Linked DNA regions of Homo sapiens: region 1 is linked to region 2. The links are contacts of gene promoters, found by promoter capture Hi-C in blood cells and fetal thymus (Javierre and others, 2016). All regions are on one chromosome and are shown on one strand. Each heading gives the region's core, a stretch centred on a gene start or on the middle of the fragment in contact. The rest is flanking DNA. Distances are from core to core; before and after follow the strand shown.

Region 1 (2,700 bases), core at 76-2,575, 470 kb after region 2:
TTACCTCAGATTATTGCTAACAAACTTCTAAATTCCTCATATTAAATCCTAGCCCAAGTCAGGCACAGAGGCTCACATCTGTAATCTCAGCACTTTGGGAGGCCAAGGCAGGAGGATGTCTTGAGCCCAGGAGCATAAGACCACCCTGAGCAACATGGCAAAACCCTGTCTCTACAAAAAAAAATTTTTTTTTTTTAATTAGCCAGGCATGGCTGGGTGTGGTGGCTCACGCCTATAGCCCCAGCACTTTGAGAGACTGAGATGGGTGGATCACTTGAGGTCAGGAGTTTGAGACCAGCCTGGTCAACATGGTGAAACCCCATCTCTACTAAAAATATAAAAATTAGCCAGGCATGGTGGCATATGCCTGTAATCCCAGCTACTCGGGAGGCTGAGAATCACCTGAACCCAGGAGGCAGAGGTTACAGTGAGCCGAGATTTTGCTACTGCACTCCAGCCTGGGTGACAGAGTGAGACTTTGTCTCAAAAAATAAAACATAAAACATAAAAAAAAAAGTTAGCCAGGCATGATATGTGATGGCAGGTGCCTGTAGTCCTAGCTACTTGGGAGGCTGATGAGAGGGGATTGCTTGAGTCCAGTCGTTCAAGGCTACAGTGAGTTATGATCACATTACTATAACAGAGCGAGACTCTCTTAAAAAAAAAAAAAGGCAAACTAATGTCTACCTTTATCAACAGAAACAGCTCCAAATAATGATGGACTGATCAAGAAGCTGGTACCAAGAAGTCTCAAAGTTATTTCAACAGCTTCATGGAGTGTTTAGAAACTTCCCAGCTGTAAATAAAAACTACCTTAAATTGCTTGCCTCCTACTCTTTCTCCCTATAATCTGTAATGTTGTGGTCCAAAAAAAGAATTGATTCCACTGTCTTGTATTTCCAGTGAACTTCCAAGCTTCCTCACAGGCTGTGTTAAAGTTTTCCCATTTATAAGCCAATCTTGCCAGAAGAGGCTCTGGAACTCAAATGGGTTACTGCCAGAAGAATCTGGGACAGCTGCACTAGTGTTATATTTCAACCATGTACCCAATCTATGAACTGCTTCCACCAAATGTGAGTGATTTTTTCCTAGCACTTGTTTCCGCTTTCACAAAACACTTTTGGATTTGAAAATGTTTCTGCCTTCTACCCTTTTAAAAAAATGAGATATGAATATGTACATTTATATCTATATATATTTATACTAATTTTTTTTTCTTTGAGACAGGGTCACTCTGTCACCCAAGCTGGAGTGCAGTGGCACAATCACGGCTCACTGCAGCCACAGCCTCCTAGGCTCAAGTGATCCTCCCACTTCAGACTTCTGAGTAGCTGGGACTACAGGTATGCGCCACCATACCTGGCTAATTTTTTAAATTTTTTTGTAGAGACAGGGTCTTGCTATGTTGCCCAGTGTGGTGTGGAACTCTTGGCCTCAAGCAATCCTCCCACCTCAGCCTCCCAAAGTGGTGAGATTACAAACATGAGCCACTGTGCCCCACCTCATGGTACATTTTGATTCTATTACTAGCCTTTCAAAATTGGTTTTGAGAATAACAAAGAACCCATTTTTCTAACCTGTCCATTGTAATAAATGCCAGAGGATAAAGCCTTTGATGGACAGACAGGTGGCTCTCACAGTAGCAATCAGGTATCCAGGATCTCCTCTAATCCATGAATGCAGAGACAACTCTAGCTTCTACAGCATTTAGTGATGATTCAAGTAAATTTTATTTTTAAGCTTGTATTTAAAAGGAAACAATTTGTTAGACAGCCACAGGTAGCACCTACAACCAATTTAATCTGTAATAACCAGTCTAATAAGTGTGTATGTTGGAGGTGTGGGAAGTGAAGATGAAGGCAGCAGAAATGATCAGGTTGAAAAAGTGGACATCTGGGTGACTTACTATGTAAACATAGCTTAAAGTACACATTTCTGAATACCTTGCTTCTAACAGGCTAAGGACTAAGTTTCTCTCTCTTCGTTAAAGCTCTGATCTCTCTCATACCCTCCTTCCCACCACCAATGATTACTGTAAATACTGTAATGGATCAAGCACGACGTTTGCTTCAGTTCTGCGTGGGCATGAAAAGACTTCTACCACCAGCTTACCTTTTATGGACTCCTACATCCATATAAGAATCAAAAGGGCACTTCCTGCAGGCTTCTGTCATGGGACAGCCCTGGGAACTGCCTTGTAATAGGCACAGACCTCCCAAGAGCATTTTAATACCCCCAGTGAACACTGTAAACGGATGGAAATGGAATTGGTCGTCAGATATTTATGATAACATTCCCATTCTGACATTTCAATGCCTTCGGAAGAACCCTCCTCGGCTCACTCACAAGCATCGGAGAGGGCCTTGTCCCCAAGAATACGAGAAAGCCCTTCCTCTCTGTGTACCTGCAGCTTTCAGGCTTCCCACACCTGGTTGGGGAGCAACCTCCTTCCCCCGCCGCCCAGATATCAGAGGAGTATACCTCTCCCAGGTGAGACCACTGAGCCTCTGGGATACCCGGTAGGGGAGGGAGGGTGCAAAGTACTGACAGGTCCTCAGATGCTGGCCAGAGGCTGAAGGAATGTGTCCAGGCTACTCACCAGGAAAGCAGAGAGGATCCCCTGCAGAGCGTCCAGCTTCTCTTCTTCCTCCTCCTCCTGCAGGATACCCAAGATGTAGGCTCCATAAACGGCTCGGTCCA
Region 2 (2,700 bases), core at 14-2,513:
CCTTATTAGACTTAAGGGGTCTATGGGAATGGGAGTGCGCCCCTCCTCTTCCTCGTGACCCCCTCCCCCAGCCCCTGCAGCCCGGCTCCGCGGCGCGCGCCCTCCCCTGGCCACGCGAGGGCCTGCTCCTAGCTCCCGCGTGCAGCGAGCGCCCGCCCTCCGCCCCGCTTCCCAACCCCAGCCAAAAAAAAAAAAAAAGAAAAAATCTCCTCCTCCTCGGAGCGCCCGCCCCGGGGAGGCCCCAGGCTGGAGGGCGGGGGAAGAGGAAGGGCGGGTAAAGGGCGCGCGCGGCCACGGAAGCGGGCACGCGCCCCAGTCTCCTCCTCCCGCCTCCCCCCGGCCGGTTCCCCCCGCCTCCGCAACCCGGCGGGGACCCGGACGCAGCGCAGCCGCCGCCAGCCCCGGAGCGGAGCGGCCGCACCGCCCCCGGGGACCGGATCCGGATTCCCGCCGCTCCCCCCTCCCGGGCTCCCTTCGCCGTCCCCGCCCGCACAGGCGGGCAAGCAGCCGGAGAGAAGCGGCCTAGCCTGCCCCCCGCCCCCGAGCCACCCACCCCGGCCAGAGGCGCCGCCACCGCCCAGCCACCCCGACGCGCACGGAGGAGCCCGGCACAGAGGCGCGACCGCGGCGGGAACCGCCGCCTCCTCCCCCGAGCCTGCGGCCCAGCCCCGCCGGCGCCCCCGCCCCGGCCTCCGGGGAGCCGAGCCAAGGAGAGGGCGGGAGGACGGCGGCCGGGAGGCGGGGGCGCAGCGCTCACCGGCCCCGCCGCCCCCTCCGGCGGCCGGGGAGAACTGCGCCTGCCGGCTCCGAGAAGCGCGGGCTCCTCCGCCAGCGGCCGGGGCTCGGCTCAGGCCTCGCTTCCTGCCTTCCCCTCCCCCGGCTCTCGGCGTCCTCCCAAGTGCCCTGGTCTGCTCGCGCCCGGTCGCCTGCTCGGTGGTCGCTTCGGGTCCCCGCTGGGCGCCCACCGCACCCCGCGGTTCGCTCCCGCCGTCCGGCCCCGACCCCAGCGCGCGTCCTCAGCCGCCTCGGTTACCCGGCGCAGCGCGGCCTCCGGGCTTCCCGCTCCAGCGGCTCCCTCCCTGGCTCTGAGTGGCGGCGCCCTCCCCCGCTCGGCCGGGCACAGCCGCAGCTCCCTCCCGCGGCGGCAGCGGCTCCTCCTCCGGGCGAGGCGGCGGCGCTGGGGCGGCGGCTGCTGCTGCTGTGGCGGCGGCGGCGGCGGCGGCGGCTGTGGCTGCTGCCTGCTGCTCCTCGCGGCGAAAAGCACAAAGCACAGCGCCCTCCGCCTGCAGGCAGCCCGCCCGCCGCCGGCCCCGGCCTCAGCTCGCACACCCCCCGCCGCCGCCGCAGCCTCAGCCGCCGGAGCGGGGAGGAGGAGGGAGAAGGGAGGAGGAGGAGCGGGAGGGGGGGCGGGAGAAGCGGGGCAGCGAGCGCGTCCTTCCCCGTAGAGCGCACACCGACCCCCGGGGAGCGAGCGCCAGCCCGCCCGCCTCGCCGGCTCCGCTCCCTCCCACAGCCTGCCCGGGCGGGCTCCGCGGGGGGCAGCTGGGAGGAGGGGCGGGAGCTGGGGGGACCCGGGCGGCCGAGGCGGAGGGAAGGAAGGAGGGGAGGGGGGTGGTGGTGGTGGTGCTGGCGGCGGCGGCGGCTGCTGCTGCTGCTGCTGCCGCCGCCGGGGAAGGGGGGGGGGGCCGGGGCAGGGAGACACGCAGCCGCCCGGATGGCGGCGGGGCTCGGAGCCTAGGCGGGCGGGCGGGCGCCGAGAGCGACCTCGCCAGACCCGCGGGGGAACTAGCAGGCTTCGCCGGCGAGGGAGGGCCGAGGTGCGGCCGCGGAGAGGGTGCCCGGAGGTGCCCCCGGCGTCCGGGGAGGCTCGGGGGGCGCCCACAGCCCTGCTCCGGAGCTCTCCCCCAAGTTCTCCCAGCTCAGACTAGGGCTTCCAGGCCAGCTCTCTCCCGCCTCCCGGAGCGAGCGGTCCGCGCCCACCCTCATCCCCCGGAGCGTGGCCGCTGGTTTGGGGCGCACGCACGCCGATCGCGGCGTCCAGCTTCGGTGCCTACCTCGCGGTCCTCTCCTTGCCGAACGGCACATACGAAACTTAAAAAAAAACCCGAAAACTAAAACCTCTGCATTAAAAAAAAAAAATCCCCGTTGCTCTTTACACCCCGGAAACGGCAAGGGAACGACGGGCTCCGGCGGAGGGGCCGCTGTGGGAGCCGGTTCAATCCAGCCCGGCATGGTTCTCCAGGCCTGCCCGGGCGCATGAAGATCGGCGCCGCCGCCACTCGTAGCAACCCCTCTCCCCCGAAATCCGCGGCTCCCGGGCTCACTTACCGAGCGTGTGGATGGGAGCGCAGGCCGGGGGCACCTGGGAGCACGGCGGGCCGAACAGTCGAGCCGCAGCTCCGCTGCAGCCGACGCCGGGGCAGCGAGTCGCCAGACAAAGCCCGAGATGGCGAAGCGGAGCGACGGCTAATGGCGAGCCCCACGCGCCGCGCTCCGCCCGCCCCGCTCCGCCCGCCCGCCCGCCCGCCTCGGCGCAGCGCAGCGCCGCTCCGAGCGCTTGCCCGTCAGAGCCGCCTCGGCGCCGCCGCCTCCCGGGCCACCCCGGCCTCGCCTGGCCCCTCCGCCTCCTCCGGGCGGCTCAGCCTCACCCCTTCCCTCCCACTGCTCTAGGGGTTGCACAAAAAAAATTTTTTTTTTTTA

The links. The method cuts DNA at HindIII sites, captures the fragments that hold promoters and counts their contacts. A CHiCAGO score of 5 or more calls a contact.
Region 1: a fragment that was not itself captured here is called in contact with the fragment with the promoter of UBTF in region 2 in 1 of 17 cell types (M2 macrophages); the score reaches 5.2 in M2 macrophages.

The regions. Positions count from the first base shown.
Region 1 is chr17:44,686,951-44,689,650 of GRCh38, forward strand. It overlaps CCDC43 (coiled-coil domain containing 43), which reads right to left. Exons shown (of 5, transcript NM_144609.3): 1 at 2,600-2,700. LOC105371792 (a long non-coding RNA gene) reads left to right here. Exons shown (of 4, transcript XR_007065769.1): 2 at 904-1,073; 3 at 1,228-1,343; 4 at 1,991-2,063. Among named protein-coding and RNA genes, the nearest start is that of CCDC43, 1.5 kb to the right of the region's middle. RefSeq lists an enhancer at 2,559-2,700. The HindIII fragment of the contact is 825 bases long and covers 914-1,738 here.
Region 2 is chr17:44,218,412-44,221,111 of GRCh38, forward strand. UBTF (upstream binding transcription factor) reads right to left here and starts at 1,264. Exons shown (of 21, transcript NM_014233.4): 1 at 1,034-1,264. All of the region lies in intron 1 of ATXN7L3-AS1 (ATXN7L3 antisense RNA 1), which reads left to right. RefSeq lists silencers at 1-160, 211-1,230, 990-1,154, 1,281-1,970, 2,481-2,700. The HindIII fragment of the contact is 14,974 bases long and covers 1-2,700 here.